7 separate regions of the Homo sapiens genome follow, and regions 1, 3, 4, 5, 6 and 7 are each linked to region 2. Evidence: promoter capture Hi-C in 16 types of primary human blood cells and fetal thymus (Javierre and others, 2016). All regions are on one chromosome and are shown on one strand. Each heading gives the region's core, a stretch centred on a gene start or on the middle of the fragment in contact. The rest is flanking DNA. Distances are from core to core; before and after follow the strand shown. Region 1 overlaps CHD9 (chromodomain helicase DNA binding protein 9). Region 2 holds the start of RBL2 (RB transcriptional corepressor like 2). Region 3 overlaps CHD9 (chromodomain helicase DNA binding protein 9). Region 4 overlaps CHD9 (chromodomain helicase DNA binding protein 9). Region 5 overlaps CHD9 (chromodomain helicase DNA binding protein 9). Region 6 overlaps RPGRIP1L (RPGRIP1 like). Region 7 overlaps CHD9 (chromodomain helicase DNA binding protein 9).

Region 1 (2,700 bases), core at 190-2,689, 220 kb before region 2:
GTTCTATGAATGTAGAATGTAGCTTTTTGTATGTTAATATTATTAAAAGGGATTTAAAGTAGTAAAATATTTCAGTATACGAATCAGGAAAAGGATAAAAACAAACAAAATGAAATCCATATTGCTGTGCCAGTTTCATATTCACTTTCTTTACAGAGCATGCATTGAAATTCTTTATAAGATTCTTTTTCTCTTGGTTGTACTTGTGCCTCACTGAGCACTCATAGTTTGGAAACATGAAATGTAATATTTTCTTAATAAAACCACAACTTTGGACTGAATGAAATGGCAAAAAAAAAAAAAAAACACTAATACCATATAAATCAACAATAAGTGGTTGCCAGTTCTTACTGATTTACTTCCATATAGTCTGATTTACTTTACGTAATAAAGAGGCCAGGTGAGGATTAATGCTCCAAGAGAATTATAAGGACAAAGAATTGCTCTAGGAGGATATATTAATCCTATGTATTTTACTGCTTATCCAAAATATTTTCAAAAAATAAAATACAGTAAATGTTATAATTTGCTTTATAGGTGTATTTGCTTAGCATGCAAGGGTAAGCATAACTAAGCCAACATAGTTTAGAATTGTTTTTTCAGGACTGGTTATTTTTGAGGACTTCATGTGGAAATTTGACATAAAGGGGTCAATCTAACTTTTCTCTTTTTCACAAAAAGTCCGCAATAAAGAATGTCTTTATTGTGAAAATCTTCATTTGCTCAGAAATTGTTGATATATTATATAGATATTTAGAACTAATGCAATTTTATAAATCAAATGAATTCTTAGCATTTTAAATGTAACCGCCAAATTATTTAGTTTGGTCCTTATGTCATTCAGGTCCAAACGATTAAATAATATGGGCTCTCTTGTTATAATAGATTAATAATCATATTGATTTTGCATTTTACTTGCAGACAGCTAAAATGAAATTTGAAAGATTTCTACTTCTTTTATTGTTTTTTTAGAGGTTTTAGGTATGAAAGTAACTTATTTTTCCAAAGCTCTGCCCAGTTTTAATTCAGGAAATCCCATATTTAGTCTTTTGCTGAACCAAAATTTAATATAATTAAGGGTTTCCAGTTTTAACTTGTTCAGAGATCTAGACAGAGTAGAATACTATTTGGAAGAGTAACGTTTTGAAAAACAATGCATAAAATGAGGAAATTGGTTGATAAACTTTTAAAAGTTACACTAACCGTTACTTGCCTCAAACTTGGGAAGGAACAGCTAAAGGCAAAAGATACCAGAAGTAAATCTAGTTTAAGAAAAAACATTGTACATAAGAGATAACTAGAAATAATTAAATTAGAAACACAGATTTTTAGAAAAGTGAATTAATATAGTAAGGGGAGTAGTAACACTGAAGCGGAGTACTGACTAGTTTTGTGATATCTGTGTTTTTGTTAGGAGTAGGTAAATTATTCATAGTAAATTATTTTAATATTGCACAACATTGACCAATTTTTCTAGAGGTAGCAAATTCTAGAAAACAAAATCGATAAGAATTGTACTAGAAATTTTTTTTTGTTTTGGCTAAATACATGGTAAAATATTGAGTAGTTGCTAGAAAAGAAAAATTGTTGAAAATATAGGCCTTTTTGATAGAAGAATTTATAAGTCGCAGGCAGATAAGTGAATTGATAGAAGAATTTATAAGTCGCAGGCAGATAAGTAGTATTGAAGTTTGCATATGTATTACTAAGCTGTTAGAGTAAAACAGTGTCAATCATTTATATCAGTCAAAGACAAAAATTATTGTCATGTTGGAGGAAAAGGCATAGTTGGAATAAATGAAATTCATATACAATCCAGAATTCCAGTATTAGCCAATGAAATATTTCATTACTGTGCTTTCCAATAAGCCACTATACTTTGTAATTTTGAATTTGGTGAGTTTTAAATTTTTGAGTGAAGAATCATTTAAGTAAAGTTCAGTTGCATCATTTCAACTAGCACCATTTTATAATTAAACATCTCATTTAAAATTTTTTATTTTTCTATTAATTTTAGGACAATTGGGCTGTTCCTAATACCAAATTATTGATATTAGTTAATTTGGAAAGCAGTGCAACTTAATCAACAGCAGTGTAAAATATAAATTTTAAAATTAATGGCTGGGCGCGGTGGCTCATGCCTGTAATCCCAGCACTTTGGGAGGCCGAGGCGGGCGGATCACGAGGTCAGGAGATTGAGACCATCCTAGCTAACACCGTGAAACCCCATCTCTACTAAAAATACAAAAACAAAATTAGCCAGGCGTGGTGGTGGGCACCTGTAGTGCCAGCTACTCGGGAGGCTGAGGCAGGAGAATGGCGTGAACCTGGGAGGCAGAGGTTGCAGTGAGCCGAGATTGCACCACTGCACTCCAGCCTGGCTGACAGAGCGAGATTCCATCTCAAAAAAAAAAAAAAAATTTTTTTTAAAGTAACTAAATTTGTAAACAATAATTTATGGTTGATGTCATCAGGGTTGGTGTTTATTTAACCCATATATGTGATTTGATGTAATCTAGGAAGACTAATCTGAAGAAAAGCAATACTGCCCCTGCTTGCTAATGTGCTTGAAACCTTTTCGTTGTCACTTTTACAGATTAACTTTTTTTCCAATGCAAAGAATAGAATGTCCTTTTCGGAGCACTTTCTTAGAGTCTCATTTCATTTTTACAATTCTGTGAGTTAGAGTGGGCATACAGT
Region 2 (2,700 bases), core at 30-2,529:
CCAGAACTTTGGGAGGCCGAGGTGGGTGGATCACTTGAGGTCAGGAGTTCGAGACCAGCCTGGCCAACATGGTGAAACCCTGCCTGTACTGAAAATACAAAAATTAGCTGGGTGCGGTGGCGCACACCTGTAATCCCAGATACTCAGGAGGCTGAGGCAGGAGAATCGCTTGAACCCAGGAGGCGGAGGTTGCAGTGAGCCGAGATCGTGCCACTACACTCCAGCCTGGGCAACAGAGCCAGACTCTGTCTCAAAAAAAAAAAAAAAGTTTAATTCACGCAGAGCCAGCTGAACGGCAGACAGGAGTTTGGTTATTCAAATCAGCCTACCAGAAAATTCGGAGACTGGGGTTTTTAAAGAATGACTTGGCGGGTAGGGGGCCAGGGATTGGCGAATGCTAATTTGTCAGGTGGGAGGTGAAATCACAGGGGGTTGAAGTGGGCTCTTGCTGTCTTCTGTTACTGAGTGGAATTGCAGAACTTGTTGAGCCAGATTATGGTCTGAGTGGCGCCAGCTAGTGCATCGGAATGCGCGGTCTGAAAAGTATCTCCAGCACCAATCTTAGGTTTTACAATAGTGATGTTATCCCTGAGAGCAATTGGGGAGGTCAGGAATCTTATAGCCTCTGGCTGCAAGCCTCCTAAATCATAATTTCTAATCTTGTGGCTAATTTGTTAGTTCTACAAAGGCAGACTGATCCCCAGGCAAGAATGGGGTTTGTTTTTGGAAAGGACTGTTACAATCTTTGTTTCAAAGTGAAATTAGAAATTAAATTCCTCCTGTAGTTAGTTAGGTCTTCGCCCAGGAATGAACAAGGGCAGCTCGGAAGTGAGAAGCGTGGAGTCATTTAGGTCAGATCCCTTGCACTGTCATAACTTTCTCACTGTTAGGATTTTTGCAAAGGCAGTTTCGTGAACGTACAGAGACAGGCCCTTGCTATTATCCCTATTTTTTAGATAAGGATATCCAGGCGATGAGGAAGTTTTACTTCTGGGAACAGCCTGGATACGAAACCTTCACACGTCAGTGTCTTTTGGACATTTTCTCGTCAGTACAGCCCTGTTGAATGTTCTCACGGTGGGGAGGTACGTGTTTAAAATGCGGGGAAGGTGCTTTTATTTCACCCCTGGTGAAACTAGGGGAGCTAATTTTTTTAAACATGATTTTTGGCCCCCTTGAACCGCCGGCCTGGACTACGTTTCCCAGCAGCCCGTGCTCAAGACTACGGGTGCCTGCAGGCGGTCAGCGTCGTTTGCGGCGGCGCAGGCGCGGTGCGGGCGGCGGACGGGCGGGCGCTTCGCCGTTTGAATGGCTGCGGGCCCGGGCCCTCACCTCACCTGAGGTCCGGCCGCCCAGGGGTGCGCTATGCCGTCGGGAGGTGACCAGTCGCCACCGCCCCCGCCTCCCCCTCCGGCGGCGGCAGCCTCGGATGAGGAGGAGGAGGACGACGGCGAGGCGGAAGACGCCGCGCCGCCTGCCGAGTCGCCCACCCCTCAGATCCAGCAGCGGTTCGACGAGCTGTGCAGCCGCCTCAACATGGACGAGGCGGCGCGGGCCGAGGCCTGGGACAGCTACCGCAGCATGAGCGAAAGCTACACGCTGGAGGTGCGCTCGCGGGCGGAGGGGCGCTTCCGGCCTAGTTGGCGTGAACCGGTGCCTTCCGAGCCGCGTCGCGCGCCTCGAGAGACTCTCGGGCGGGTTGCGGGCTCCCAGCCCCGAGAGGGGTGGGGACTTCCTCTGCGCTATTCCGAGGCTCTTAGCCGCTCCGAGGGCTAACCCGCTCTCGCCGCGCTTTCCTGCGGCTTCCGAATGGGGAACGCGTCTTGCCCTAAAGTAGCACAGCAAGGCTGAGATCGCGCTGGGGTCCCGTTGAGGAAAATGGGTGTGTGTGGCCCATCTGACCCCCCGCCCGCCTTGTTAGTAGAATGAACTAGTGTCGTTGTCAAGACCACACGGACAAGGGGAGGGGACTTGCCCTTATTTGCACCGCGATTAACCGGGTTGTGGCACCTGGGTCTCCAGGCGTCTCCGTCTGTTCGCTTCCCCCTGTTAACCAAATTGCCTTTGCCCTGGCGTTGCGGGCGTTTGAGTCAACGTGCTGATGCGTTTTGGGCTGTGTTTACGTCTGTGTAAACAAATTAATACTCATTTCCCCCCAGGCCAGATGAAATGAGCCCTCCGCCGACCCGGATGTAGACACATGCCCCCATTTGTCACTAGGATCAGGACTGTGGCTACCTCGAGGGCTTTTTGGTCACCCCGGGCATTGCACAGGACTCCTGTTGTTGTTGCGATCCGGGTGTGTTAGGTCGCAGCCTTCGGACAGGGCTTGCAGATGAGAAAAATGGCCATTCTAGCCAGTGAGTGTCAGCTTTGTATGCACCTCCCCTTCATGGGCCAATGGGAAGTGACACGGAAGTACGGATTGTTTATCAGCTGTTTGACTGTGTGTGTGGCATTTAAACCTGAGGCCATTTGATTTCTCAAGTCGTTTTATAATTAATTTGTAGAAAGAGTCGGGCAAATAGGTCCAGGATGCAAAGCCTAACCAAGGTATTATTTAAATATGATGTTTTTGGCTATGTGTACTGATGAGTGAGGTTATTTTTAATTTGTATTTGCATTAATAGAATTTTAATTCAATTACTAGTTCCCTCTTTGAATTGTTAGGTCTGCAGAAGATAGTGTATGGTGGCTTTA
Region 3 (2,700 bases), core at 41-2,540, 240 kb before region 2:
CCCACAGGTAGTGTATAAGGGTTCCAATTTTTCCATACTTGCCAATGCCTGTTTTTATGTCTTTTTTTTATTGTAGCCATCTTGGTATAAAGTAATGTCTTGTTGTGGTTTTGATTTGCATTTCCCTGATTGCTAATGATACTGAGCATTTTTTCATGGGCTTACTGGTCATTACCTTTTTTTTTTTTTTTTTTTTTTTTTTTTGAGATGGAAGCTGGCGTGCAGTGGTACCATCTCGGCTCACTGCAACCTCCACCTCCCAGGTTCAAGCAGTTCTTCTGCCTCAGCCTCCCGAGTAGCTGCAATTACAGGTGCTTGCCACCACGCCTGGCTAATTTTTTGTATTTTTAGTTTCATCTTGTTGGCAAGGCTGGTGTCAAACTCTTGACCTCAGGTGATCTGCCCACCTCAGCCTCCCAAGGTGCTGGGATTACAGGCGTGAGCTACCGTGCCTAGCATTGTATCTTTTTTTTAGAGAAATGTCTATTCAGATCTTTTGCCCATATTTAAATTGGGTTACTTATTTTTGTTACTGATTTGTAGGAGTTATTTATATATTTTAGATACAAATCTCTTATCAGGTTTTTTAAATTGAAAAAGCTTGACATCAGATATTTGATTTGCAGATTTCCTTGGGTTTTTTTTTCATTTGAAAGATCGTAGCTTCCAAATATAAAGATTAAAGATAATTTTATTTCTTGCTTTCCAATCTAGGTGTTTTTTATTGCTTTTTCTCTTCTAATTGCCCTGACTAGAATTTTCAGAACAGTGTTGAATAGAAGTGACAAGAGTAGATAACCTTGTCTTGTTCATGATCTTAGGGAAAAGCATTCAGTCTTTCACCATTAAGTACTGTATGATGTTAGTTGTGGGTTTTTCATACATGCCTTTTATTATGTTGCAAAGGTTTCTTTTTATTCCTAGTTTGTTTTGTGTTTTTATCATGAAAAGATGTTGAAACTTTGTCAGATTCTTTTTCTTCATCGCATTTAGTTTTTATTTGTGATCATTTTAGTTTTTATTCTTTATTCTGTTGATATGATTTTCAGATATTAGCCTTGCACTCCTAAAATAAATCCTACTTGTCGATGGTATGTATCTCTCTCTCTATATATATATGTATTATATATATTTTTTTTTCCTGGATTAGGTTTGCTATTATTTTGTTGAAAATATTTGTGTCTGTATTAGCAAAAGATACTGCTCTGCAGTTTGAATTTATGATTTGTACTAGCGTTTGCTGTGTTTGTATTTTGGCTTTAATGGGTCATCCTGGATAATTGCATTAAACTGAACAATTAGCAAAATATTTTTATAGCCTTTTATCAGACTTTAGTGCATTTGTAGACTGTGCAATTTTTTCCATGTCTTACAGGATGATAGCGGAGGTATAAATGAAGATATATTTTATTCAAATATTTGAGATCAACAAAATAGACGGAAAGCTAATGTTGACAGTATATGTGACCTGTAATCATTTAAGTACTTTTGTACTTGTTTTTTTGCATCTATATTATGGGGATACACTTTAATATTACATTTATTATCCCTCAACCTCTTATTTAAAATACTTTTGAGTATTCTAAAAATGTCACATTGAACCATGATTTTCCCCCAACCCTACCTCCCAAACTAGAACAGAACCAACAAACTTCTGGTCCACATTGGTCCCCAAATTATTCTTAATATCACCTTTCCCATTGAAGAGCAAATTACTGATTAAATCTCTCTATTTGTAAGATTATAGCAGTTTACAATATGGCTTTCTTTCCAGATGGTAGAGGTGGGTGGAGACAAACCTAATTTCTTTCTCAATTAAAAACGTTTTATACTAGAAGAAATAAAATGGGTTTTGAAAGATATAAAAGAGTTGTTTTTGTCTACACTGAGAATCAAAAATTTTATAGTTTTGCTACCCAATCCATTCAAGCTCATTTTCTGCTCGTTCTCTGTGGACTCTGAGAATGAGCCTTTAATATGTTAAGCTTTATCATGACGCGCCAAGGAGGAGGAAATACAAGGCTGCATCTCAGAATTTTACATGAATCTGAGTGTTTTAATATCTCACAATTTCCTGGAATATAACTTACGAAATTTTTTTCTACACAGTTATTTCACTTGTTATGCCTTTGGTTATGCTTATCTTCCTCCATTGAATATCTTATTATCTCATCATTATAAAAATTAGCTTATTTTCTGAGAACACTTTCAAGTCTTCCTTGCCCCTCTAGTTTATATTGATTTACCATTTTCCCCATATCTCTGGTGTGTTTCCCAGAGAGTCTGTTTTTTGTACCTCTATGTAATAGGTTATTAGCAAATATTTTCTAAATTGAGTATCTGCCACTAACAACAGGCCAGCATAAATTATAGAAATTAGTATAATATAATCTAATTTTACTTTGTAGTCAAATAATTAAAACTAATAAAAGAAGAGGAGTTATTAAACAGATAAGTCAGGGTAAAATTAATCCTGTTACATATGTCCACTTAGTAAGTACATTTTAAAATCAATTTTATTGAGGCATAATTTACATACAATGAAATGTACCCATTTTAAGTGTAATCTGATGATTTTTGACAAATATATACAATTAGGTAATCATTACCGCAATTAAGATATAAAATGTTTTTATAACCCTAAAAAGTTCCTTATGCCCCATTGCAGGTAGTCTTCCTCCCATCCCTGGCCCCAGGCAA
Region 4 (2,700 bases), core at 41-2,540, 170 kb before region 2:
GTTTAAAAAGTATGGTACTGACAGAAAGATACCAAGCAAAGAATGGGATAACAACAGAAAAAGATCAAAGTATAAGTTTATGAAATATACAAATAGTGCTAAAGAAAGATGATTTAATAAATGGTGATTAGGATATTGGATTAGCATTTGGGAAGAGCGTTATAATCCTATGCTCTATACCAAGTAAACTCTAATTTGTGATAAAAGATTTTTAAGTGTTTTTTAATCAAAACATGAAAAATAGAAATTAGATTTCTTTTCACAAATATTTGGGTGGGAAAACATTCTAAATTAGAAATTACAAAGGAAGTGATTGGCATATTTAACTATACAAGACAGAATTATGTAATGGAAAAATGAAAGTGCAGTCAGACTGGTGACACTATTTGTAGCAGACATGTGTATGAAAGTTAATGTTTCTATTACATAAAAGCTAATATAAGTAGATCAAAATTGTATCAAATCTCAAAAGATTTGGGGAAAAAGACATTTGAAAATTAAGAAAAAAATACAATTAGTTTTTTGTTTTTTTTTTTAAGGAAACTGGGAAGGGGAAAAAGAGGAAAAGGGACAACTCTTTCTTACGGAAGAATTCCATTTAATAAATGTAGAAGGAATGAAGGAAATAAAAAATCACCATGAATCAACTGCAGTAATAATTGTAGCATACAAGATCCATCAGTGAATTCTAAAATTAGTGGGTAAAAGTTTAAGGAGACACAACATATTTATGTGTCTTCAAAGTATATCTTCCAAAATACATATTAATTCCAAAAGGAAAACTAGTAACTTCACAGTGGAGAAACTTGGCAAAAGTTAACATCACCTGTCATAGGACATCACATGCCCCTTAAATATAATGCATTCCATACATATTATGGCATACCAGGACCTTTATGGTCTGGTCCCTGCCTTCTCTCCTACCATTTGTCCTCTCCTGCTCTAGGACATAAGCATTTCCTGAAAATCTGATACCACTTCAGGTCCCTTGCTCTTTCCTCTACTTGTAATGCTATCTCTTCCCTCACTGCCTGGCAAACTACTTCTAATACTTTAAGAAGTCTTTCTAGTATCACTACTTTGTGACATTTTCTCTGACTGTGATACCTCTTATATCATAAAAAATTTCATCCCAAATAGCATTTGTTTAGTGACACATTTGTCCGTGTAACTAAAACTTTGGATTCCTTATGAGTAGAAACAGCCTTATTCATCATTATACCACAGCCCATAACATAGTGCCTAGCTTAGAGAAGTTTCTCAATAAAAATAAAAAGTATGTTAACATAAATTGTTTTGAATGAATTAAACTGAATCGAACATACTGAGGTTGATGCAATTAACTGCCTTGCTTTCTTTGTATTAAGTCTTTTGGAAAGCGCTGTAAAATATTCATAACCTTTGACCAGTATTTCCATTTCTGGATACTTCCCTTCTTTTGAATTTACCTTTAGAATAAACTTAAGCCACAAAGATTTACTTTAGCATTATTTATTTTAAAAATTAAGAACAATCTAAATTATGAATTAGGTAAAGAAAAATTATAAGGCATAAATTCAGTTTAAAATATTTTTATGATTACAATAATGTTATATTAATATACAAAATATCAAGTTCTTTTTATCCTATGACTATAATGTCATAAAATTTTACATGTGTGGTAGTAAGAATTCTAAAGGAATATAAGCAATTCTAAGTTGACTGAATAGGTTGGTGAAATTGTTAGTTGTTTCTTTTTGTCTGTGTTTCTGTAATTATTGTTTGTATAAGGTAAAAATGTAGAACACTGTTGTAAGCAAAATCATAAAAGTACCTTCAGGTAATAGCAGTTCTGTTTTACAGAACAGCTTGGTTATTGACACTCCAAGAATTAGGAAGCAAACAAGACCTTTTAGTGCCACAAAAGATGAATTGGCTGAATTATCTGAAGCTGAAAGTGAAGGAGATGAAAAGCCCAAACTCCGGAGACCCTGTGACCGTTCCAATGGCTATGGAAGAACTGAATGCTTTAGAGTTGAGAAAAACCTGCTAGTTTATGGGTAAAACATTGTTTTTAATGTTTGCTCTAAGTAGTCTGGTATGTAATGTTACAGAAAATATATACTGGTTTTGAGTATATTTTTTATCTTCTTAGAATCATTAAAATTTACTTTTAAAGTACTCTATTTTTAGCATATATTTAAGAGCAGAATGATGAGATTATCCTCAAGTATTTAAATTTTCAAAGTATCACTAAAGTCAAACTTCTTGTCCTTAAATTCGCATATTCAGTAATACAAATTAGATGTTATCCATTACTGAATAAAATATACTAGAAATTACTATACCATTCCTCTACATTCTATGCATGGGTAGGGAAGACTTAATTAGCAAAAATGACAATTTTTTAAAGTTTTTCATTCCTTTTATCTATGAGTTAATATTTTTCTCTAGAACTTGACTCAATATCAATGTAACTATACCTTTTTTAACCAGGTGGGGCCGATGGAGAGAGATTCTATCTCATGGCCGTTTCAAAAGGCAGCTAAATGAACACGATGTAGAGATAATTTGCCGAGCTCTCTTAGCATATTGCCTTGTTCACTACCGAGGAGATGAGAAGATTAAAGGTTTCATATGGGATCTCATTACTCCAACTGAAGATGGACAGACACGAGAGCTACAGAATCATCTAGGTAAGAACATTGTTTCATTTGCTTT
Region 5 (2,700 bases), core at 126-2,625, 190 kb before region 2:
TTACCCAGGAATGGGTTTAAAAATGTACATTTTACTTGATTAATAAACCTTGTGGATGAAACTTTAAATAGATATATATTTACAACAGTCATCTTCAAAATTGAAAAAAGTGATTCAAGAACTTTGGATCTATTTCATTGTTATAATTAGAGCCTTAAGTTGTGGGACTTTTATTCTTATTATATACTATATAAAATTTGTTCATGCTTTAATTTTTTCTGATTTGTTTCAATGTGGGTTTTTTGTTTTGTTTTGTTTATTGGTACATCACAATAAGATAGTGTTAAATATTGTCTAATCAGGCCGGGCGCGGTGGCTCACGTCTGTAATCCCAGCACTTTGGGAGCCTGAGGCAGGCGGATCATGAGGTCAGGAGATCAAGACCATCGTGGCTTACACGGTGAAACCCACGTCTCTACTAAAAAAAAAAAAAATACAAAAAATCAGCCGGGCATGATGGCGGGCACCTGTAGTCCCAGCTATTCGGGAGGCTGAGGCGGGAGAATGGCGTGAACCTGGGAGGCAGAGCTTGCAGTGAGCCGAGATCGTGCCTCTGCACTCCAGCCTGGGCGACAGAGCGAAACTCTGTCTCAAAAAAAAAAAAAAAATTGTCTAATCAGTATTTAGGCTATAATAGGCTAATTATCGTAGGATATTTTATCAGACCATTAGGATTCCATCTGATAGTAACATATTAATGTAAAAGAGAATCAGAAATTTCAGCTATAGATTTTTTATTTTATTTTTTTTTGTTTGTTTTTGCTTTGTTGGTTTTTTTTTTTGTTTTTTTTTTTTTTTTGAAGACAGGGTCTCACTGTGTTGCCCAGGGTGTTGTGCAGTGGTGTGATCATAGCTCATTGCAACCTCGAACTCCTGAGCTCAAGCAATCCTCCCACCTCAGCCTCCCAGGAAGCTGGGACTACAAGCATGCACTACCACACCCAGCTAATTTATTTTGGGTAGAGACAGGGTCTCACTGTGTTGCCCAAGCCGATCTCAAACTCCTGGGCTCAAGCAGTTCTTCCACCTCAGCCTCCCAAAGTGCTAGGATTATAGGCATGAGCCACTGCACCTGGCTTGCAGATTTTAATTCAATAGATTTTAACCCATATAGATAAGTAAAGGTCTATACTGATTTATATTATTAGAGATTATGTAGTTCATTTTTATTTTTCATTTTTATTTCTAGTTCCATTTTTATTGTCAATGTCCTACTCTTTAGCCTCATTTTAAAATGTATAGTATTCTCAATTTTATATCATGTGATACGAACATTAAGTTGCACTGTTCCCAAAAATAGTAATTCTTATATTTTTTTAATCTTCTTACGTGGAGAACTTCATACAGATAAAATTACTTATCAATTTCTGTTGTAATAAATTTCATGGAAAATTCAGAGTTTCTTTATTGTCATAACAAACATTATTAGAAGTCTCCATTTTGCAGGTACCAGAGATAACCGCGGAGAGACTGCTAAAACTCTAGTAAATCATATGTAGAAGTGTGTCAGATGTCATATGTATACCACTTAGAGTCCAAGCTCCTAAATTTTTATGTATTTTATTTTTATTTGATGTCTTGCAGTTTTTGAGTTTTGTATATGTTAAATGGGGAAGGATAAAGGAAGTTAAAAGATAATCACTTTGCAGTAATGACTATAAAGAATTCAACAGCATTCCAGTGTATTCTTAATAGATTGCAATATAGAAGCAAGTATGTCAGTCGAGAGTAACATGGATTAAGGACAAAAGAAACATTCATAGCCTTCTTGTATAAAGTTTTTGTGAAAGTATTTCTTGCAAAAAAGTAATATATTATGATGAGATCAGCAAAGCAGTTTTTATAGACTGCCTTTTGTTATTCTAACTTCTGAAATAAAATTTATTGTAGTGTTCTTTTACCTATACATCTGGGAATTCAGAGGTTTTGTATCTTTATATTAGTTTTTGTTTTCTCCTTAACACCAACACCAAAAAGTATAAAGTCACAGAAACTACTTGAGATGATATTGCTTCTTAATTTTAGAGAAAACATAATGCTGCAGGAAAACTGACTTTACATTTGATAGAATATGTCTTCAGTTTTATTATACTTATTTATGTAAATTTATTCCATTTCATTCCATAGATACTTATATGAGCGAATTGATGGCAGAGTCAGAGGAAATCTTCGGCAAGCTGCTATAGATAGATTTAGTAAACCTGATTCAGATAGATTTGTTTTTCTCCTGTGTACCCGAGCTGGTGGGTTGGGCATCAACTTAACTGCAGCTGATACATGTATAATTTTTGATTCTGATTGGAATCCTCAGAATGATCTTCAGGTAAATAATTTCCTTGGCTAACAAAAAATGCATTTTTTAAAAAAGTAAAATTGTGTAACTTTTTGGTAATCCACATCTTTTATTTTTATCTGGACAAACTAATGTATGTTTCTCTATGAAATATCTGTGCCAAATAAAATAGGTGAAGTTATTTTAATTGTTATGATAAAAACTATAATGACAAAAATTTTTACTTTTTTATATGTCTCACTAACTTATATGTCTTACTAGCTTATAAAAAATTATACCTAATTGAGTACAGTACTTTTTGTTTGTTTATTTAGATATGAGGTCTCACTATGTTGCCCAGGCTGGTCTTGAACCCCAGGACTCAAGCATTCCTCCCATCTTGGCCTCCAAAAGTGCTGGGTTTACAG
Region 6 (2,700 bases), core at 104-2,603, 250 kb after region 2:
TGATTTCCACGCATCAGAAGCTGCTTAAAAGCACAGCAGGTTAGGGAAAACTGTCTTTAGACTAGAGTTCTTGACAGCAGTTAGTAGGTCGAGCATAGGCTTATATGAAGAATGTTAAGTAAAAACATGATTTTTAAATAGACTAGATAAACTTATCCTTTTATGGCACATGATAAAGTATTTTAAACTAATTTTGACCTTATCAAAGTGATATTTCTGTTTTAACATACCTTTGATCTGTAGCTTGCTGTTCTCGAAGCTGAAGAAGAGATAACTCAATTTCATTTTCTTTTCTCCTCAACTGAGTTTTCAGGATCTCAGCCAAGTGCTCTAACTCCTCTATCTGGCCTCTTTGTGACTGAATAACGTTTTCTCTGAAATAAAGAGCCTCTGTAAGAACTTGTAGTTTGAGGAAAATTTTTCAATAGTTAAGATCAGTGCAAAGAAAGTTCTTCATGAAAAAGAGCAAGCAGAAGTTAAAAAATTTAGCTTAAGTGCCTCTGCACACAGTGAAATAGTAGCAGATTAAATGTGATGACTTGGAAATACATACGGAACAATGCAAGATACTGCTTTTTATAAGATAATGTCCTAGGCAATGGATTGGACTTTGGTTTGATTCAATTGAGTAAGTATTTATTGTGGAGTACACCTACTATGTATGCCACAATCTGGTCTTCAGAATATTTATATGTCTTTGTTCTTTCATATATGCACATCTGCTTATAACACCCAAATTAACACTTCAGAGAGAGAGGGCAGGAAATTTGCCAAATATAACTTAGTGGTCTCTGGCATGCATTTATCTCTATCATGTCTGGCAGCATCACACTGTAATGAGTCTCAGGAACCGGTATAAACGTTGGCTTTTCAGGTGATCATCAGGTAACAAGGTTATGTCTAGTCTTTTATTTTCCTGCAGGCTAATCATTACTGTAGCTGCTATTTAAAATATTCAAAAGGAAACATTTGAAGACCATATTATTCTTAAGCAACTATCTTAAGTATGATACTGTGCGCCATGTTTTCTTTTCTCATGAAGTATTGTTACTTTTTGATGATCCAGGTGAAGGCTTAAAGTGGAACCTTACCTTCATTTGTGTAACTCACAGACACTGAAACCATGAGGCTTGGATTAACTAGAAAAGTAAGCTAAATGTGGCAGAAGTAACTTTTTTGAAACCATATGATGAAGAATGCAGTGCCATAGAATCATACGAAAACAAAATCTGAAATCCATATGTATCTGATAACTCCAAACTTTTATGCCACTCCCCAATTCTTTATTTATTTTTTTTAACCAAGAAAAGGGCTAATTGATTCAGGATCTAAAAAAATTACCTGTGATTTTCTGGGAATAAAAATGTTGCCTCTAAATCTTACACTATTCTAACTGACTGGACTTTATGCCATTCCTCTGAGGGTCAAATTATAATAAAGAAGACTATTACATAAATCCTTCCATTGAGGCAGCTGGATAAGTTCTTCATTTTCCTTTTTCTGAGAACATGTTATATAACATCTGTTGTTACCCTACAGAACATAGCTGTATTTCAGTGGAGCAAACTGTTTACATATAAATAAAGGAAAGGGAAGGATAAAAAAAAAAGACATTATCAATAACCAAAGTTCTCAAATTACCACAAAAAAGAACACATACAAATTTCTTATTTCTCCTCTGGCTTCTTCAAGTAAACTGTTGCCATATTTTGTAAACATGGGATGTGGAGTTTCTGCTACATCTGCATCTTGGAATTTTATACCTAAAAACAAAGTAATAAAATATGATTACAGAATTGAAGTTAGAAAAGAAGGATCTTTGATTTGCTATAATAAGGATATTTATAATAAAATCTCTTAAGTATTAAGAGGTATGTGTTTTATAGTACACAGAATTATAAATACACTGCCAAAGGGAATATGTGATCTCAGCCACCAGTAGGCATTAAATAAAACACAGCAGCAAGTATTGCTCATTTTACAAATCTACTGTAGAAATCAAATTACCTAGAAATAATTTTATTCAACTTAAGATTTAGACTCCTGCAGTAATTTCTGAAATAAATCAGTCTTCTATTCAAGTTTTAACAATGTAAATAGGTTATAAAAACCTGATTTTTTCCCCAGTGTTTGTGATAAGGGTTTTTTAAATTTTTAAATTATTCATATTCCTTGCCCTTAAATGTTTAAGTAAAAATGTTTTCTGTATTTTGATTTATTCCACCCCAATAACAAAATCCCTATTTATGAAAAGGTACTTTGAGAATGGATCATCGCAAGAATTCCTTTAAATAAAACATTTCCCTGCTGCACTTAAAATATAATTTTTCTTATAGAAATCTGTAGAATTTTACAAAGACAGTCCCATTGTTTAAAATAAGGCATATTCTTAATTATGTGAGTTATTTTACATTTATAGAATAACTAAATATTAGAGTTTAAGGTAGATAAAGCATCACAGATGATTAAGGTTTTTAAATGGAGAACAAAACAACAAATTTATTCCTTTAGAAAAGTTAACTTTTTAAACGTGAGATTTCATTGCTCTGCATATTCTCAGTAAAGAGAAAATTTAAATAAAGAAAAAAGAGAATTTTAACTAGAACAATGGAACTATTACTCGCTCTTTCCAAAGTAGTCAATATCTATTGCTGTAATCCAGAAGAATAGAAAAGGCTCTGCCTAAAACATTAAAATAGT
Region 7 (2,700 bases), core at 181-2,680, 200 kb before region 2:
GGAGTTTGAGACCAGCCTGGCCAACATATGAGACCTCCATCTCTATTTTTTTTAAAAAAAGATGATTCTAATGACCTGTTAGTTTGTGGATGCTGGGAGGTCCTCTCATCACCTTAAATATCTGTCATCTCTTCACTATGATCTAGAAGTTCCTAATAAGCTGAAGATTTTAGAATTAAGTAATAATCATTAAATTTTCATTAAGACTAATTAGGGGAGAGTCGGTGAAGAATTTTAAGTAAAGGAGCGATATATAAGATTTATATTTGAGAAAGATTACTCTGGGGACAATGTGAAAAACATTAAAGGGGAGGTGAGACAGTAGTTGGGGTTATTTTAAAGATTCAAGTAAGAAGTGAGGATGAAGAAGGAGGAACCAATCTCAGAGTTAAAATAGAGTCTGTACGAATTGGTGACTTACTCGATGTAGAGGGTAAAGAAAAAGAAGGAATCTAAAATGACTTCTTCATTTCTGGCTTGTGTCACTGAGCGTGGGCTATGGAGAGGAAGCTCTGTTACCATTAACCATTAGAAAATGCAGGAGGAGGTATGGGTTGAAGAGTAAATGAGTGCAAATGAGTTTGAGGTACCTCAGTAAAGTTTGCAGTCAGCTCAATAAGTGGGTCTTGAGCACAAGAACCATCAGGTAAAGATAAAGGGTGTGTGAGACAACAGAAATGAGCATTCAATGGGATGATGCATGGTCTTCAACTCTTGCAACCTGAGGAAAAGCGTAAAGGAAAGGTATAGAGGCTGCTTTCAGGCATTTTTTAAAGCACGTATCTTCTAGAGTACCTTATATTTTAGTACTATTTGGTTTTATTATTTATAACATTTTTCATGTTATCCTAGCTATCATTTGGAAATGAAAATGGAAGAATTCCATTTATTGGACATTTAACTGAAATCAAACTTACAAGGTCTATAGTGAAATGCTAGTAAATTCGTCCTTACTTTTATCATTCCAGTTCTTTGTCAGATGTCAATTAAGTTACCTTTTAATTTTAGATGGAAGAAGAACCATTTAACCCAGACTACGTTGAAGTAGACAGAGTATTAGAAGTCTCTTTTTGTGAAGATAAGGATACTGGTGAGGTAAATATATGGTAAAAAGATTTTTTAAGTAAGAAAAATCTGAAACTTTCCAAGTATTAAGACCTAGTACTTTATTCTCTGTTTAAACTATTTCTTACTAGTGTCTTTTTCAAAATGGTAAATGAAAAAATTTTTTTACAGCCTGTTATTTACTACTTAGTAAAATGGTGCTCATTGCCATATGAAGATAGTACTTGGGAACTAAAAGAAGATGTAGATCTTGCAAAAATAGAAGAGTTTGAACAACTGCAAGCTTCAAGGCCTGACACAAGACGTTTGGTAAGAACCTGTTTTAGACAGCTTTATAAAATCTTAGCACTTGTTTATGTAAGTTATGATATTGCTAATAATTATATAATGTTTTACTTTCATTTCTTTTAAACAGGCTTGTTACTATGTGAGTCTAGTTTTGGGAGCCAAAGCTTAAGAGGGAGTTTATATGTGAAAAGACAGGAGCAGATTCCTTTTTGATTAGCACGAGAGTGAGGAAAGCTGCCCTGATAAACATGGAGATGTGAAGTAAGAGAAGGAAATGAATTAAATATTCCATAGAAGAGATCATATTGTTTTATAATAACTATTTTCTGATCTTCCTAGTATTATTTTCTGGTCTTCTTACTTTATTTTCCAGTAATGTCCGTAGGCTGTTAACAAAAGCATATCAGTTTACCCCCATTCCTTTTACCTTCTAAATGCTATTCCTTGAACCAGGAAACAGAAGCGTCACCTAATTCAGAGAGGAATGAGTCAAGGAATGTAGTAGAAGAGAAAGATTTTCTTTTGGGGTGGGGTCTATGCCTTAGTGGTAATATTAAGCCTCACTGAATAAGCTATGTCTTTAGATAAGTGATTCTCAGTCAAAGGTGCATATCAGAATCTCTTCTGGAGCTTTTCAAAAATTAGAGATGCCTTAGATATATGTTATAGGCCTTGGTAAAGGGGGCTCAGCCAATAGAATTAATCCCCTTAATTAATGTAAAATTGATGACAACAGGGCTAGTCTGTCATGGTTAAATAATGTAGGAGGTGTTTTTTTGTTTTGTTTTGTTTTCCTTTCTTTTTGCCAGTATACTGCTGTTAAATAAAATAGCATATAAGTCACGTAAAGTATTTTGAGATTCTGTAAATGAAATTTTTCCCTGACCCGAACTAATGAATCATTAATAGTGATTGGATTGCTGAAAAGAAGCTATACAGAATATGATCTAATGCAGAAATTATTTTAAGCAGCAGTTAAAATATATGTTAATTATTTTAATGTTCATTGGCTATCACTTAAAAAATGTTTTCTTTAGCAAACACCTGTATTAAGTAGCAGCAGAGCTTCAATAACCAGTCCTGTTCTCAGTATACTGATAGCCTGTTTTGTTTTCCATGTACAATTACTATACACTTACCTGATGTTTAAGAAAAGCTTTCTTGAACTGTGTTTTTCCTCTGCTCTCAGGGTAACACAACAATCAACACAAAAGACTTCTGTAACCCCAAAATATGTGGGGAATTCTTCCGACCAGCAAGCAGTCAGTTCTGCAGTGGATGCCAGCTGGCTGTCCTCTAATTCAGTTCTACCCAGCTCTAATTCACCATCTACCCAGATATAGCATC

What was found. The method cuts DNA at HindIII sites, captures the fragments that hold promoters and counts their contacts. A CHiCAGO score of 5 or more calls a contact.
Region 1: a fragment that was not itself captured here is called in contact with the fragment with the promoter of RBL2 in region 2 in 7 of 17 cell types (neutrophils, monocytes, naive CD4 T cells and 4 more); the score reaches 19.2 in neutrophils.
Region 3: a contact is called between a fragment that was not itself captured here and the fragment with the promoter of RBL2 in region 2, in 4 of 17 cell types (neutrophils, monocytes, non-activated CD4 T cells and 1 more). The highest score is 12.0, in neutrophils.
Region 4: a contact is called between a fragment that was not itself captured here and the fragment with the promoter of RBL2 in region 2, in 6 of 17 cell types (neutrophils, naive CD4 T cells, monocytes and 3 more). The highest score is 12.8, in neutrophils.
Region 5: a contact is called between a fragment that was not itself captured here and the fragment with the promoter of RBL2 in region 2, in 7 of 17 cell types (neutrophils, naive CD8 T cells, total CD8 T cells and 4 more). The highest score is 10.3, in neutrophils.
Region 6: a fragment that was not itself captured here is called in contact with the fragment with the promoter of RBL2 in region 2 in 2 of 17 cell types (neutrophils and total CD4 T cells); the score reaches 7.4 in neutrophils.
Region 7: a fragment that was not itself captured here is called in contact with the fragment with the promoter of RBL2 in region 2 in 5 of 17 cell types (neutrophils, monocytes, M2 macrophages and 2 more); the score reaches 10.3 in neutrophils.

The regions. Positions count from the first base shown.
Region 1 is chr16:53,210,001-53,212,700 of GRCh38, forward strand. All of the region lies in intron 3 of CHD9 (chromodomain helicase DNA binding protein 9), which reads left to right. Among named protein-coding and RNA genes, the nearest start is that of CHD9, 160 kb to the left of the region's middle. The HindIII fragment of the contact is 7,899 bases long and covers 1-2,700 here.
Region 2 is chr16:53,433,192-53,435,891 of GRCh38, forward strand. It overlaps RBL2 (RB transcriptional corepressor like 2), which reads left to right and starts at 1,280. Exons shown (of 22, transcript NM_005611.4): 1 at 1,280-1,605. The coding sequence starts at 1,366. RefSeq lists a silencer at 1,335-1,554 and an enhancer at 2,165-2,274. The HindIII fragment of the contact is 5,814 bases long and covers 1-2,700 here.
Region 3 is chr16:53,188,427-53,191,126 of GRCh38, forward strand. The region is part of intron 2 of CHD9 (chromodomain helicase DNA binding protein 9); the gene reads left to right. Among named protein-coding and RNA genes, the nearest start is that of CHD9, 130 kb to the left of the region's middle. The HindIII fragment of the contact is 1,385 bases long and covers 599-1,983 here.
Region 4 is chr16:53,265,452-53,268,151 of GRCh38, forward strand. CHD9 (chromodomain helicase DNA binding protein 9) reads left to right here. Exons shown (of 39, transcript NM_001308319.2): 21 at 1,843-2,039; 22 at 2,476-2,675. Among named protein-coding and RNA genes, the nearest start is that of RBL2, 170 kb to the right of the region's middle. The HindIII fragment of the contact is 3,841 bases long and covers 1-2,700 here.
Region 5 is chr16:53,247,744-53,250,443 of GRCh38, forward strand. CHD9 (chromodomain helicase DNA binding protein 9) reads left to right here. Exons shown (of 39, transcript NM_001308319.2): 17 at 2,128-2,323. Among named protein-coding and RNA genes, the nearest start is that of RBL2, 190 kb to the right of the region's middle. The HindIII fragment of the contact is 2,792 bases long and covers 1-2,700 here.
Region 6 is chr16:53,686,203-53,688,902 of GRCh38, forward strand. It overlaps RPGRIP1L (RPGRIP1 like), which reads right to left. Exons shown (of 27, transcript NM_015272.5): 5 at 1,661-1,763; 6 at 231-374. Among named protein-coding and RNA genes, the nearest start is that of RPGRIP1L, 16 kb to the right of the region's middle. The HindIII fragment of the contact is 8,993 bases long and covers 1-2,700 here.
Region 7 is chr16:53,230,411-53,233,110 of GRCh38, forward strand. CHD9 (chromodomain helicase DNA binding protein 9) reads left to right here. Exons shown (of 39, transcript NM_001308319.2): 9 at 1,009-1,095; 10 at 1,237-1,374. Among named protein-coding and RNA genes, the nearest start is that of CHD9, 180 kb to the left of the region's middle. The HindIII fragment of the contact is 169 bases long and covers 1,347-1,515 here.